4 separate regions of the Homo sapiens genome follow, and regions 2, 3 and 4 are each linked to region 1. Evidence: promoter capture Hi-C in 16 types of primary human blood cells and fetal thymus (Javierre and others, 2016). All regions are on one chromosome and are shown on one strand. Each heading gives the region's core, a stretch centred on a gene start or on the middle of the fragment in contact. The rest is flanking DNA. Distances are from core to core; before and after follow the strand shown.

Region 1 (3,752 bases), core at 847-3,346:
CCTGATTCCCGGGGCTTAATTAACGAAACTGAAAGCAAAATCAAACTTCAATACAAATGAATGTACAGATCCATCACTTTCTTACTCATTCTAGATTCTAAAGTCAGTCTCTCAAACCCTTGGTTTATAACTACCTATGTGCTGAGACATCTTTCTTCATACATGTCCTTTTGAAGCTATATATTAAACACATACAAAAACATATTTTATAACAAATACTATCCTGTTTTACAGTCCACACTTAACACAACTCAACTGCATAATGCCTGTATTTTGCTTTTTTTTTAGGTTAATATTAACTAAGTAAAATAAAATACTATAAATTCTGAATTCGATGACTCTAGGGATTCGAACACATTAAAATTGTGTGTAAACGAGTGCTAATTACATGATATTAACTATTACTAAAGAAGGCCTAACATAAATCCTATCACTCAAAGTACCATTCCAACAGTTCTAAACTACGTGATTTAAATCTAACCTACCTGTTTTAAAAATAGTATATGGTTTATACTTTTTACTTTTTAGGCAGTTTGAATAAATGATACTGTATCACTTCATATCTGGTTCAATATGAAGGCGTTCTGAAATTATTATGCGATTATACAACACATCTCTGAAAGCAGTATTATTTTAGCTATAATGATAGTAAAGGCAACAAGCATACTAAACGTGATGACAGGAAACACTAACATCAACCATTTAGATAACGGAGACCTGGATTCACAGTCCCAACATCCAGGATGCTCGGGGAGGGAGGAAAGTGGTAAGCAGAGACTTAAGGGCATCTTGGAAATACCTAAAGTCACAAGCCTTTAGGAACGGCACACCGAGGCTAATAATCAGTTTAAAATCGAATTAATTTAGCATTCTAGAATAAATGTAACAATTGCTGTCACTGGTGCTCAAGCTGAATTCTGAATCTTATAAAAGTTCACAAAAGGCTCTATGGATGTGAAGTGTGACAGGCACTCACTGTAGAGCTACGAATGTTTCTATTCCTTGCTCAGTTTTTACAGACGAAGCACACGTTTTACAAAAGCGAAATGGATTCCAAAAGCTCGGGGTGGGGGTGGGGGGGTGGAGGTTCTTTGGCGTCGAAAAACACCAAATCCCATTCTGCTGCACATGTTTTGACTGGAGGTTACTGTCTTCCTATTTCAGGCGAAAACCAGATTACTTTTAAAACGGTTCCCCCAAATAAAGTGGGAAAAACTTCAACGTACAATTTAGAATGTATGCAAGTGGCTGATGGGGCGTGAGGGTCACGAGAAAGGAAGAGTTTCCAGCAAGCTTATTTTTAGGATTAAAAACGACAGCAAAAATTACACGGCCGGAAGATTCTTCTGATTGAATGCTGAGTTGAAAATGAAACTTAATTGTGTCCTTTACGTCCTCTTCGCTCCTATGTTCATGTGGGAGGCAAACGGCAGAAACCCCTTCTCACCGACTTCGCCAAAATGCGCACTTCCATCGCAAGAGGCCCGGGCCCTCCCACTCTCCCTCCCTCAACCCCAAATGCGTCTAAGCACTGAGAAGGGAGAGGGGTGCGAAAGAAGGGGATCCCTAGCAGCTGCAGCCCCTTGCCTCTGATCGCGCCCTTTCTTGCTAGTTAATTTTTGCGCGAGGTGCGCGGTTTGGAGTCTTCCTGTGTGTGTGCATTTGGAGATGGAGAACCGGGTGGAGGAGATGAGCCCCGCTCTCACCCAGGGGGAAGAAGACGACCAGGGAAAGGAAGGGAGGAAGAAGGGGGGCGCCCGATTCCCCGTGGGGCCCTCCCACGTCTGCACTTCGGGCGCTCAGGGCCCGAGTGTTCTGCGCCCCGGCCACCCTCTTCAGGGCGCCGCCGGGCTGGCTGGGGCGCAGCCCACACGCCCGCGGGGGCGAAGCGACAGCAGCCGCAGGGCTGGGAGCGAGGAGCCACTCACCGCAGCACGCCGAGCCCAGCAACAGCGCCGCTACCAGGGGCCACATCTCCGCGCCCGCCGCGGGGTCGCCGCCGCCGCCGCAGGTGTCCGGAGCAGCAGCCGCCGCCGCCGTTACAGGCAGGACCGACCGCCGCCGCGCGTCACAGGCAGGACCCACTGCCCAGGCTGCACGGCCGCGCGCACGCGCGCTCCCACTGCTTCCCGCCCGCTCCCCCGCCTGCTCCCCGCCCGCGAGAGCCGCGCACGCGCACTCGGCCCCGCCCCGCAACCGCTGCTGTTGACGCGGCGCCCTCCCCAGTCGCAGGCTCCAGACCCGGGGCCCGCCTGCCCGCTCCACGGAGGCCGGATGCCTGCTCCAGGGCGGTGGCACGCGCCGCGCTTCCAGGTCACGTCCTGTCGCACCCGCCCGCCCCTGGGGTCCGCGTGCTCGCCCGCCGCAGGAGGCTGAACCCTGTGTTCCCACGCTCGCCGGGGACCTCATTGCACCCGTTCCTGTCCGCGGGTCGGTTCCTGCCTTTCGCGCGGCGCTGGGCCCCACTGTCCTCTCTCTCTACTTTTCTCCTCTTTGCTTTCACTCCCACCCTCGCGCTTCAGGGGCCGGGTCCCGTCCCGCCCCAGCCCGCGTCTCTCCCTGGACCCGACGTCCGGCTGCGCGCGTGGACCAGGACACCTAGGCTTTCACCAGCGCCCGTTTCCTCCGGACGCGGCCGTCTAGCGCCGAAGCGGTCCCTGAGCCCGAGGCCGCCACGCCCAGGGCAGGGCGGTGGTCGGGTACCTGCCCGCAGGGAGCTTCCACTCGCCCCTCGCGGGCTCTGCGTTCGGCTCGTCTACTCGCTCTGCTCTTCCCTATGCGGTTCTCTTCCCTCTTTCTCACTTGGTTCTTTAGTGTTTTCATCCTCTGATCAGGGTTAATCAAACAAGTTCCATTCACGGTGGTAAACATTGTTACCTGTGAACACCGCCACCACCGGGACTAGCGAGCATTGTCGCAAACAGGCATTAGCAGCGTATCCAACACATCCCCACCAGCAAGGTTATTGAGCTTGGTTTGTGACTGCCCCATGTGCAGCCCTCTGCGCTGCGCTTGGGTTTAACATGCTTGAAAAATGGGTTCGAAATGTGGCCGCAAGCCACAATAGGGACAAGGCTTTTGAATTTATCGCTGAATCACACAGGCCACATCATTCATCCTGAAGCAAAAGTCTTTTAAAGATACTTTTAACCGTTATCCTAACTGATGTACTCTCTTATCAAAAAGTCAGGCTCTGGTGGCTGCTCTAATGGAGTGCACATCCTGTCCACCTCCTTGATTGTTTTCCTCCTACCTCCTGGGAAAGAAAGCAATTTCCCACCACAATACCCCACTTCTCCAAATCCTCTACACAGTGCGGCTCCTCCCAAGCATCCCATTGCCACAGAAATAAAATCCAGCGTATGAAAGTGGCACTGTCTATGACACTCTGTACCAGTGTATTGTATACTATCGAGCTTCTTCCTGTAATTGCTTTTTTGTGTGAACCTCTTCCCCACAGCATTATCAATTCTTTTAAATCCGAGAGCATTTTAAGTATTCCCTCCTCCAAGACTTTCCATTGAGCTCGGCAAACAGAAGGGGTTTAATAAATGTGTTGATGCGGCGTGAGGCAGGCATTGCTCTAGTGAAATTTGATTGCTTTTTTAATGATTGAAAAATAAAAACAATTGCCTGGCAGACATCTCACTAAAACAATGGTTAATAATTATGGTGGTAATGATTTGAATGGCAGCCTTGACACCCCGAGGCAACCAAAGGGACTCATCGATTCTCCTCCAACTGCTGCTTAT
Region 2 (3,336 bases), core at 542-3,041, 4.9 Mb after region 1:
GTTTTTGGGGAACAGGTTTTTGGTTGCATGGAAAAGTTCTTTAGTGGTTATTTATGAGATTTTAGTGCACCCATCACCTGAGCAGTGTACACTGTACCCTATGTGTAGTCTTTTTTCGCTCACCCCTCCCACCTTTCCCCATGAATCCCCAAAGTCCATTATATCATTCTTATGCATTTGTGTCCTCATAGCTTAGCTCCCACTTCTAAGTGAGAACATACAGTATTTGGCTTTTTATTCCTGAGTTACTTCACTTAGAATAATGGTCTCCACCTCCATCCAGGTTGCTTCACATGCCATTATTTTGTTCCATTTTATGGCTGAGTAGTATTACATGGTACATAAATACCACATTTTCTTTATCCACTTGTTAGTTGAATTGTTTTTATAACGTTATGTACTGAAAACCTGTAATATTATCAGTGTTTCTTAAAGTGTCACTTAAAACTAGAGACATTTGAAGGCCAGGTGCCATGGCTCATGCCTGTGATCCTAGCATTTTTGGGAGGCCGAGGTGGGCAGATCACCTGAGGTCGGGAGTCCAAAACCAGCCTGGTCAACATGGTGAAACCCCATCTCTAGAAAAATTAAAATAAAAAAAAAAATTAGCCAGATGTGGTGGCACATGCCTGTAATCCCAGCTGCTCGGGAGGCAGAGGTTGCAGTGAGCCAAGATCACGCCATTGCACTCCAGCCTGGGCGACAGAGTGAGACTCTGTCTCAAAAACCACCACCACCACCAAAAAAAACTGTAGTATATCCATACCTGAGAAACATTTTGGCTGATCTCCATACGGACGGACAGACGGACGCACAGATGGATATAGGAAGACAGATAGATAAATAATATGTACAATAATGGTGATGGTAATTTTTTTAAAACCTAAAAAGTCTAACAAGGTAATTGAATATTTATTACAAAAAGAACAAACTAAAGAGATCAAGACTTATTCTGGAAAACAAAGCAAAATAGAAGATATAGTGAAATTTTTGGAATCATGAAGGAAATGGATCAGATAATATTGATCATCAGATTTTAGAATACTACAAGACGCGGCTGGGGGAAGAGAAGAAAGCTAGAACACATTAAAAGATGTTCTGCTTTCATATATGAAATCATAAGAATTTGTAAATTTTTTTAAGTTGATGAATTCAGATGTTATATCTGAGGAAAGGAAGAAAATTATTTCTCTTTTCTTTTCACAGTGCTGTGACCTTTTCTGGAATCCACCTGTTGAGATGCTTTATAGCCAGTGTAACAGGAAGTCTTGACTAATGGTTCCCGGTTTAGCTGAAGATTCAAAAAAAAAAAAAAAAGCTTTATGCTAACTGGAGTTAAATACCTAGAAGAATTTCAACATTGTTTTAAATGTTGTGCATCTGTAACTTCAGGAGGATCACTTGAGCTTTAAAACCTGTGCCTTCTCGAAACAAGAATTTGTGCCTGAGGTGAAAAAAGTTTGTAAGTTATTGAATTATGGTGTTCATTAGAACAGCTACTAGCTGATTCCCCTATTTTAACAAACTGACAAGAGCACATCCATAAAATGAAAACCTGTTACAACTATGTACAGAAGGGTTTGACGTTTTATTGGGCTTTTGTCTTTTAAAGAATATGTCTACTATGGGTATTTTTTTTTTAAATGTTAAAATGGGCTAGGTAAAAGGGGGCTGCTTTTCTGTTAAGCATCGATAGGTAAGTTGATGGATAAAAGTTACTATGTAAGCCTATTTTTTTGAGTCCTTATTTGAATATTGAAAACATTCTTGATAAAATGTGTTAGTCCATGTTGGAAACAACCGAAAGAACAGAATTCAAGTTCTAGTTCTGATGTTTATTATATATGTTGGATCTTGGGCAACTTACTTGATTTCTCGGAAATTCATTTGTTACTGTAAACGTGAAAGCTATTAAGATTCAAATGAATGGTTTTACAGCAGGTAACATGTGAGAAGACAGCTACATATTTGTAAAGCCAAACCAACAAAGAAATATAGCAAAATTCACAGGTAGATTTATTACAAGAAATGTCCTTTCATGGGGGAAGTAACATTTTCACTAGTGAAAAAGCAAAAAACAAAAATAGCTTTAAGTGAGAAAACTAATTTGTAAAGGGCAAGAGAAAAAAGCTGATGGGACAGTTTAGACTGCTACATTTAAGATTCAGAATGGAAAAATAAAGCCTTTGAACTAAAGTTAATAGAGAAGATTTTTGTGAAGGTGCCACTAACCTATTCATGTAAGTGGCTTAGGTTTTCAAAGTGAAGCTTAATATTAAAAGGTTATAGCTGTATTGCTGGATAACAAATTAAAGCTATAAACCAACTTCGTGGCTTTTCTTTAGAAAACAATCTGAATATATTGTCAGTTTTATAGTTGACAGAATTGGTCTAATCTAAGCAGGAATGTTTTCAGCCAAAAAAAAGATTTTTTAATATAGACATTCATAAAATATATAGTAACAAAAGAATTATCTTAGAAGTCATCTTTTTGTCTGCCAGTGTTACTTCACTGCTTTGATTTATCCTTGGTTCTCCTATAAGCAGAGCCTGAGCCAAAAGCTTACATATGTAAATTTGGGAAGTGATCCCAGGGAACAGTGGCAAAATGAAACAAGACAGACAAGCCTATTAACAACATATTCATTGAGTTAGCCAAAACATAGGCACTAGTGCTAGATCTTGAGGGAACTTGTGACAAGTCCTAGGAAATATGTGTTGTATAGTGACCAGGTCTATGCAACCTACCCCCAAAGGCTGAGAGTGCTGAGATGCCAAAGAAAGAGGCCAACAAATCCAGTTTGTCAGAAAGAAACATTTAATAGGGACTTATGCACAGAAGCCATGTCTCAGGCAGTGATCCCCACAGTTACCCCCCGACCCAGGGCTTATATGCCATAGAGAAAAGGGGGTACATGAAGGAACATGTGAGACACTGAAGTCACCTCCTCAGGGAAAGGCAAGAATGCTGTTTACAACTTAGCCTATAACTTGCTTAAGGCCAGGATTTACAGTGTGTGTGTGTGTGTGTGTTCTTTTAATAGATAAAAGTAGAAATCTTAGAGGGCATTCCAGGAACTGGTTATCAGAAGTCAACATGGTAGATTAGCATCCAAGATGGAAGTTACTTTAGCCTCATACTGTGCCTGTGAATTTCTTTGAGGAGGGGATGGGGTGGCCCCACACCTCTTCCAGGTTGTACATACCCAAGTGCTAGGCAGTTCCTGTAGCTGGTGAGAAGCCCAGGGGCAGGAAGTGAGACATCCCCAGAGCAAGAGGCAAGGTTCAGCCCTGCTTGAAACTGGTTGCCACAGCAGTGACTTTAGTATGAAGGCC
Region 3 (3,752 bases), core at 655-3,154, 4.4 Mb after region 1:
ATGGAATCCAGAAACAATCTAGAAAGGTGGTGGGATCAAACTGTGGAAGACTTTGAATGCTGGTTAACAAAGATGAGCCCAATATTGTGACCACTGGGGATGCTATGCAAGAGAGTGTTGTTATGAAGGAAGTGTATGAGGTAATTTAAGTGTATTTGGCTGAAATTGACCAAAATGGGGAAATACTAAAGACAAAGAGTCCAATCATAGAATTAATTGGAATTATTTAGAAGGAAGATAATGATGGTGCGAGATGCTTATAGAAGCAATTGGAGGAAACACATCACAGAGTGGAATGTTGTGGAGAGACAAGAGTAGGAAGCCAAAGAAAATTCTCTGGGATTTTCCATGAGGATCAAGAGCATTAATTAACAAACTGATAAGGAAGGGAGTGATAGGAAGGATAGGTGAGTAGGAAACTAAGAGAGTAGAAATGTTCAAAAAGAAACTGACAAGGCCCTTCATGTCTCCTATTTAGCTCTTAGACTTTCTCTTTCACCACTTCATACTTCACATACTTTGTTCCATAAAACCCCCCAAGGCACAGGATTTAGGAGGGAATGTTATTCCCTTTCCCCTAAAGTTGGGTTCTTTCCTCCACAAAATAGATAGATTGTTGATCCTAATCTCAGCCCCAACTTGATCCCTAGAACAGGCACCTTTATGCACTTTACAAACTACAGATTATCTTTAGTCATCATGAATGACCCAAATATGGGATAGAGCAGAAATTGCAATGCTACTTTTGTGTAACAGACTTTTGTATCACAATTAATTATTAACTTCTGACCTTTCATCTGACCTTGGCTAAATTCATGTCTCGTATAGAAGTAGATTAGTTCCCATAAAGAAAGACTGAATTACACAAGGCTTCTCTTCCAAGGAAGGTGGACTCAATGCCTCAAAATTTAATTTTATTATACATTATGTTAATATATTATATAAATTAGTTAATAGCACTTATTTATTCAATAGTATATATCATTCTAGAATTAATATTTTGCAGATTTTCCTTATTTTTGTAATTTATTTTACCTGTTTAAAAAATAGTATTTGTTAAAAATTCAATATTTTGTCTCATTAATGTGAATTAATAATGCAATTCTTTCCAGAAAGTGTTCATTCCATACATCCTTAATATAGCCTTCTCCAGGTTGATGAAGACAATTTTTGTGCTTTGCATATACTATGTTCTTTAATTCATTTACAAAGAAATATTTAGTGAGCCCCTACCATGTGCCAGGTACCCTGCCATCCATCATACAGAGCAAAGATGTTTAAGACACAGCTTCCATCCTGAAGAGGTTTATAAGCCAGTGCATGGATGGTCACAAGTAACTAGCACCGAGCTTCACGCTATATTTGCAAAAGCAGAGTCCCTAACTCTGCCATCGATTTCTTCTATATTTCATAATTGAGGGTTGTAGCTACTGCTAAACTGCTATGCATTTTTTCATGGTGCTGCTGTAAGAAATTTTAAACTAACCTAAAGCATTTTAAAAGAATTTCAATGGATTCCTTCACTGGGCTACTTTAAGGGAGTTGAAAGACACTCAAAAGTAAGCATATAAAGTAACAAATTAATTTTAAAAAGATCAGTTGTAAAATGTATGCATTCAAGTGAATGATGTCCATAAAGGAACTAAACTGTACGAGGTTGCATCCAGAGTTCAGCCATGCTGCTATTGCAATAACCCTCTTTTGAAATTTCTCCTTCCCAGTAACTTTAAGGGTCAATTTATGAGCAACAAAAGAAACTCCACATTATTTCTTATAATTAAAGGGCACTCTTCTTTGATCCAAATATATTTTTATTGTGGTAAAATACATATAACATAAAAGTTACCAATTTAATCATTTAAAATGTACAATTAAATGGCATGTAAGATACTCACAATGTTTTGCAAACGTGACTACGATCTAGATTCAGAACATATTTATCACCCCAAAAGGAAGCCCTCTACCTATTTAGTAGTCATGTCACATTCTTTATTTCCTCAGCCCCTGGCAACCACCAAGCTACTTTCTGTCTCTATGGATTTGCCTATTTTGGATATTTCATATAATCAGAATCACATTGTATGTAACCTTTTTCTTCTTTTACTTAGCGTAATGCTTCTGAGGTTCATCAATGTTGTAGCATACATTAGTACTTCATTCCTTTTCATGACTGAATAATATTCCGTGTGTGGATAAACTACATTTCCTTTATCCATTCATCAGCTGAACATTTAGGTTGTTTCTACCTTTTGGCTATTGTGAATAGTGCTGTGATAAACATTCAGGAACAAGGTTTTGTGTGAACATATATTTTAATTTCATTTGAGTATTTACCTAGGAATAGAATTACTGGGTACTGTGACAAGTAGGTTTTATCTTTTGATTTTGAGGAACTGTTAGACCACTTTCTAAAGTGACTGCACCATTTTACATTCTCCTCAGCAATGGATAGGGTTTCTATTTCTTCACATCCTTGCTAACACTTATTATTTTCTGTGTTTTTTTTTTTTATTCTAGTCATTCGATGGGTGTGAAGTGGGTTTTCACTGTGACTTTGATTTGCATTTCTCCAGTAACTAATGACATTGAGCATTTTTTTCATATGTTTATTGGCCATTTGTATATTTTCTTTGATGAAATGTCTATTCAAGTCCTTTGCTCATTTTAAAATTAGGTTGCCAGTCTATTTGTTGTTGAATTTTAGTATCTTTTGATGCACAGAAGTGTTTAATTTTTATGAAGTCCAATTTATCTATTTTTGGTGTTATTGTTGATTATGCTTTTGTAATCATAGCTAAGAAAACACTGCTAAATCCAAGATCAGAAACATTTATCCCTATGTTTTCTCCTAAGAAATCAGAGTTTTATTGTTTTATATAATGCAGTTTTTATAGTTTTAGCTCTTCTACTTAAATGTCTGACTTATTTTGATTGCTTAAAATATGGAGTGAGATGAGGGTTCAAATTAATTCTTTTACATATGAATATCCAATTATCCTGGCACCATTTATTGAGACTATTCTTTCCCCACTGAATAATCTTGGTACCCTTATCAAAAATCAATTGACTACGGATGTATGGAGTTTATTCTGGACTCTCAATTCTATTTACATTGATCTCTTTGTCTATCCATGACAATACTATTCTTTTTTTTTTTTTTTAACTGTCATTTTGTAGTAAGTTTTGAAATAGGGAAGTCTTAGCTTCAGTTTTGTTCTTTTTCAAGATTGTTTTGGCAATTCTGGGTCTGTTGCAACTCAATGTGAATTTTAGGATCAGCTTTTTTATTTCTGCAATAGCAACAAAAAGCTGTTAGGATTTTAGTGGAACTGCATTGAATCTGTAGATCACCTTGGGGAATATTGCTATCTTTACAATATTACATCTTTCAGTCCATGAATACAGAATGTCTTTGCATTTATTTACATATTCTTGAATTTCTTTCAGCCATGCTTTCTTTGTTCAGTGTACAACTCTTATACCTCTTTGGTTAAATTTGTACTTAAATATTTTATTCATTTTGATGCTATTGTAAATGGAACTGTTTCCTTAATTTTCTTTGTGGATTGTTTATTGCTAGTGTATAGAAATATCACTGATTTTTGTGTGTTGATCCTGTATCATGTGGAATTGCTAAATTCATGTATTAGCTTTAATAGTTTTAAACAAATTTTTAAGAATTTTTCTACACATAAGTTCATGCCATCTGTGAATAAAGTTTTACTTCTTTTTTTCTAAGTTAGATATCTTTT
Region 4 (3,752 bases), core at 771-3,270, 3.5 Mb after region 1:
GCAGTATGAAGGAAGGAGAGAAAGAAGTTAAAGGTGACATCTGGGTGTCTGGCATGCACACCTGAATGGTGGTGCTATTCACTGTGATGGAAGGTAAAGGAAGGTTTGTGGGTGAATTTATGAAAGTGATTCTGGGTATACAATATTTAGTCTAGGGCAGGTAAAGGGACAAAGGAAGCTGCTAACTATGAAGCATTCACACCAAACATACTTTGGAGGCCTGCATTTAGAAGTGGGAATCCTAGATTTAAGTTCTAGCTCCTTTCTGAATAGAAATAAAATTTGACTTGGGGCCTGTGGTGTAAATTCTCTGAGCCCATTTGGAAAATGATTATAATAATGCCTGCCCTAAATTACCTGGTCCTAAAGTAAATGATTTTCATTTCTGCTAATGGAAAACAATGAAAGTGAAAGCCAACAGATGCAAAATGCACTGGCAGTGGACTGGTTCTAACTCAGGGCAAAGTGGCCTGGTAATATAAGAAAAAAAAATAACTCGTGAAGGTCATATTAAAGGGGGCATAGAGCTGTCCAGAACAAGCAACAGGTATGGATTTATAGCCTCCTCTCCATGTCTTATAACTTACTTGCTTTAAAAATATGCTGTTGGAACAGTCCACCTATAGGCCAAGGTCCCATCAACTACTATCTTATAATGCCCAATTCCCTTGCTGTTTTCCAGGAGGAAAACACACCACACACACACACACACAGACACATACACACACACACACACACACACACACACTTCAGTTCAATTAAGGATGGAGTGGAGTGGGATTGAAGTAAAGAGAAATGGAAGACCTATATAGAAAACTGTTTAGCTATACATAGTTTGATTCAGGTAGCCTGTATTTGGATATTGGCTCTATCATTTACCATACGTTTCATCATTCCCAAGTTGTTTCAAGTTTCTTACATAACAAATATGGATAATTATAGTGCTTTCTTTACAGGTATCACTAGCTTGGTGATTAAATGAGATAATCTGTGTAATGCACTTAAACATATAGTTCCTGCTAAAGGATAAGAGTTTGGTAAATGGTAGTTTTCAATTAAGAATAGTAATAATTATATTGAGCAAATTCTATTTCTCAGTTCCAATTAAATATGAGCCCTGCTCCTTCTTTTTATATATTGACCTCATTTGGAACCCAGTAAGACATTTGCCATGTAATGTTAGTACAAGTACACATTGACCTTGGTTTCATACATAGTTTTTTTTGTACATTCTGCCTGAACCAGTAAACAATACTATTGCCTCACGGAGGACTCAGTGTTTCCTTCATTGAGACTTGGCAACATGGACTGATGTACCTTATAGGAAATAGAATAAGTGATGCCACAAAATGAAGACAGCAATGGAGAACAGATAGTATATTATCCAGAAAGGAGGATGATGTTGCCTTTAAAGAAATGTATTTCTTAAAATAAAGAGAACCAAGGGAGTTAAGCTTGTAGCTACTAAAAACTGCAGGTCACTGGAGAGGCAGAAACCGTATCTATACTTTTTGCGGTTGGAAAATTTCCGGTCTTCTGAATGTAACTTTGCTGCTGTCATCTGGATCAGATGAAAAGCAATGGCCTCAGTGTTAGAGAAATGGTTCTGGTATTGTGATTTTGGGTACAAAGGGAGTAAAATAGAAAAGAGCAAAACAGAAGGGGGAAACATCCTTCACCACAGAGTGACCACAAATGTAAGCCTGGTACGGAGCTACAGAGTAGGCAGCTGACTAAAGGGAGGCAGTTGCCATCTGAGAGCTCTGTCAAGTTCACAACCAATAGCATATTTTCTTTCTACCCTTTACTGTTTTGATCTTCTCTTGCTTCTTCTCCTCTCACTTGTACAGTTTTCTTCTTATGCCCCTGTGCAATCTTTAAGTTTACAAGCTAGTTGGGTAAGCAAAACACACCTGAAGTGCAAACACTTATATAGTACATAAACAAATGCAAATTGAAGTGGTGCATAAGAACCTAATTTGAAAATGCTGAGGGACTTGAAGTGTTTGAGTTGATCATCTCTTCCTGTTTCTTTTCTGTTGCTGTTTGAGTCATTCTCTCTTGTCTGCTCACAACACAGTGTGTGTCTAAATCCTGTTCCCATGTTCCCCAAGGGCCTAGCTGTGAAAGGATTCTGTTCTCTTTTCACAATATTTTGTCTCTGTGTGTGTCTTAGTGCTCTGAGATTGTGGACAAGAGTGGAAATATAATAAACAGTGTGAGGTTTGCCTCTTTTTCGCTTTCACTTGACAGAGTTTCCTCCTAGGTTAGGAGATTTTCAGTCACTCCAAGAAATGCAGTTCTCTGAGTTAAGCCTTGGATTGTCATAATCTAGATTTCATTCATTTGAATGCTACTGGATCCCATAATGCTTCAGATTGTAAGATTTTGGTGCATTTTAAAATTTGTAGTTATTAAGATCAGTTATAAGAGTATAACATGGCTTTAATTTACTAGTTCACAGTAAATGCCTTGGTGGGCTGTTAATGTTATTGGAAGCAGTAGTAGCAGTGAATGCGGTTGGAGAAGTCATGGTCCTGGAAGTAGTAGTAATAGTAGCAATAAAATTTTGATACTACAATGTTGATAAGCTTGGTCTAAAACATGTTGTTATCCTGTCTAGTTTGTATTGAGCCTGAATGCTGGCTCTTCTTAAATTCCTGTATTTAGTCTTTATCCAACAAGTGTTTTTGAGTGCTTACAGTGCTAGACACTGGGCACTAGGCACAGAGTAGGCATATATGCATGACTGTGTCTTCATGAATCACAAAGTTCAATAGGAAGAAGTTGACATTCATCAAATAAGCAAACAAATATCAAATTGCAACAGTGAGAAGTGCTTCAGAAGTGAGGAAGTAGTGTATGAGAGGGTATAATAGGAAAATCAGAAAAGACTTTCTTTACTTTGTCCTTTCCTTTCCCTTCCCCCTTATTTTCATTTCCCTCTCTTCTCCCCTCCCCTCTCTTCCCCTCCCCTCCCCTCTCCTTTCCTTTCCTTTGGAAGCGCTGCTTCAACTGGAGTTAACCAAGTGAACACAGAGCTTTACAAAGAACAGGACATGCAAAGGTTCTATGGGGGAAGGAAGTTATAACAACTGGGTAGGCAGGGGAGATTTTAAAAGGTATTATGGCTGGAGCAGAGGGATTACAGGTGAGGCAGTTGACGATAAGGTTAGAAAGATTGATTAGTCCATTTAAGGAGTTTTGTCTTTATCCTAAGAGCTGTGGGAACTAATTAAAAGGTGGTTGTTTTGTTTGATTTTTTTTGTTTTGCATTTCAAAAATGCATCTTTGTGGTTCAAGTGTAGAGAATGAATTGGAGAAGGCAGAGACGATAGTGTGGATCAGTTAGAAGACAACAGCAGAAAGCTACATGAGAGATGCTGGTACCATTAAGTACAGTGGCAATGAACTAGAAATAGAAGAATGTTTAGATTAGAAACTTGTGTAGGAGATTCTCCCCACAGGATCAGTGGTGGATTGCCTACGTGAAGGAAGGAATAAAAAGCAGCGTCAAGGATGATGCTTTAATTTCTAATATGTGACACAGAAAAAATAGGGGAACATTGTATTAGGGAACACTGGAAGATGATCAGATCATACAGAAATTATTTTGCATTTAATCTTATAGATGTTGAGTTAGGCATGAAGTTGTGACATACAGAAGACGTTAGGTAAACTGGATATACAATTTCAGATCTAGGAGAGAGGTTTAAGCTGAAGATACAGAGTCATCTGAGTGTGAGTGTTAA

The links. The method cuts DNA at HindIII sites, captures the fragments that hold promoters and counts their contacts. A CHiCAGO score of 5 or more calls a contact.
Region 2: a contact is called between a fragment that was not itself captured here and the fragment with the promoter of CD47 in region 1, in 1 of 17 cell types (activated CD4 T cells). The highest score is 8.3, in activated CD4 T cells.
Region 3: a contact is called between a fragment that was not itself captured here and the fragment with the promoter of CD47 in region 1, in 2 of 17 cell types (total B cells and activated CD4 T cells). The highest score is 7.9, in total B cells.
Region 4: a contact is called between a fragment that was not itself captured here and the fragment with the promoter of CD47 in region 1, in 4 of 17 cell types (fetal thymus, naive CD4 T cells, non-activated CD4 T cells and 1 more). The highest score is 9.8, in fetal thymus.

The regions. Positions count from the first base shown.
Region 1 is chr3:108,088,935-108,092,686 of GRCh38, forward strand. CD47 (CD47 molecule) reads right to left here and starts at 2,097. Exons shown (of 11, transcript NM_001777.4): 1 at 1,929-2,097. The coding sequence starts at 1,974. RefSeq lists silencers at 1,821-2,570, 2,591-2,640, 2,651-2,710. The HindIII fragment of the contact is 8,318 bases long and covers 1,292-3,752 here.
Region 2 is chr3:112,999,644-113,002,979 of GRCh38, forward strand. It overlaps GTPBP8 (GTP binding protein 8), which reads left to right. Exons shown (of 6, transcript NM_014170.4): 6 at 1,207-2,326. The coding sequence ends at 1,276. RMP64 (ribonuclease MRP subunit p64) reads right to left here. Exons shown (of 9, transcript NM_015412.4): 9 at 2,801-3,336. Among named protein-coding and RNA genes, the nearest start is that of GTPBP8, 10 kb to the left of the region's middle. The HindIII fragment of the contact is 950 bases long and covers 1,317-2,266 here.
Region 3 is chr3:112,474,860-112,478,611 of GRCh38, forward strand. The region is part of intron 2 of BTLA (B and T lymphocyte associated); the gene reads right to left. Among named protein-coding and RNA genes, the nearest start is that of BTLA, 23 kb to the right of the region's middle. The HindIII fragment of the contact is 4,154 bases long and covers 1-3,752 here.
Region 4 is chr3:111,546,200-111,549,951 of GRCh38, forward strand. The region is part of intron 2 of CD96 (CD96 molecule); the gene reads left to right. Among named protein-coding and RNA genes, the nearest start is that of CD96, 5.9 kb to the left of the region's middle. The HindIII fragment of the contact is 1,137 bases long and covers 1,453-2,589 here.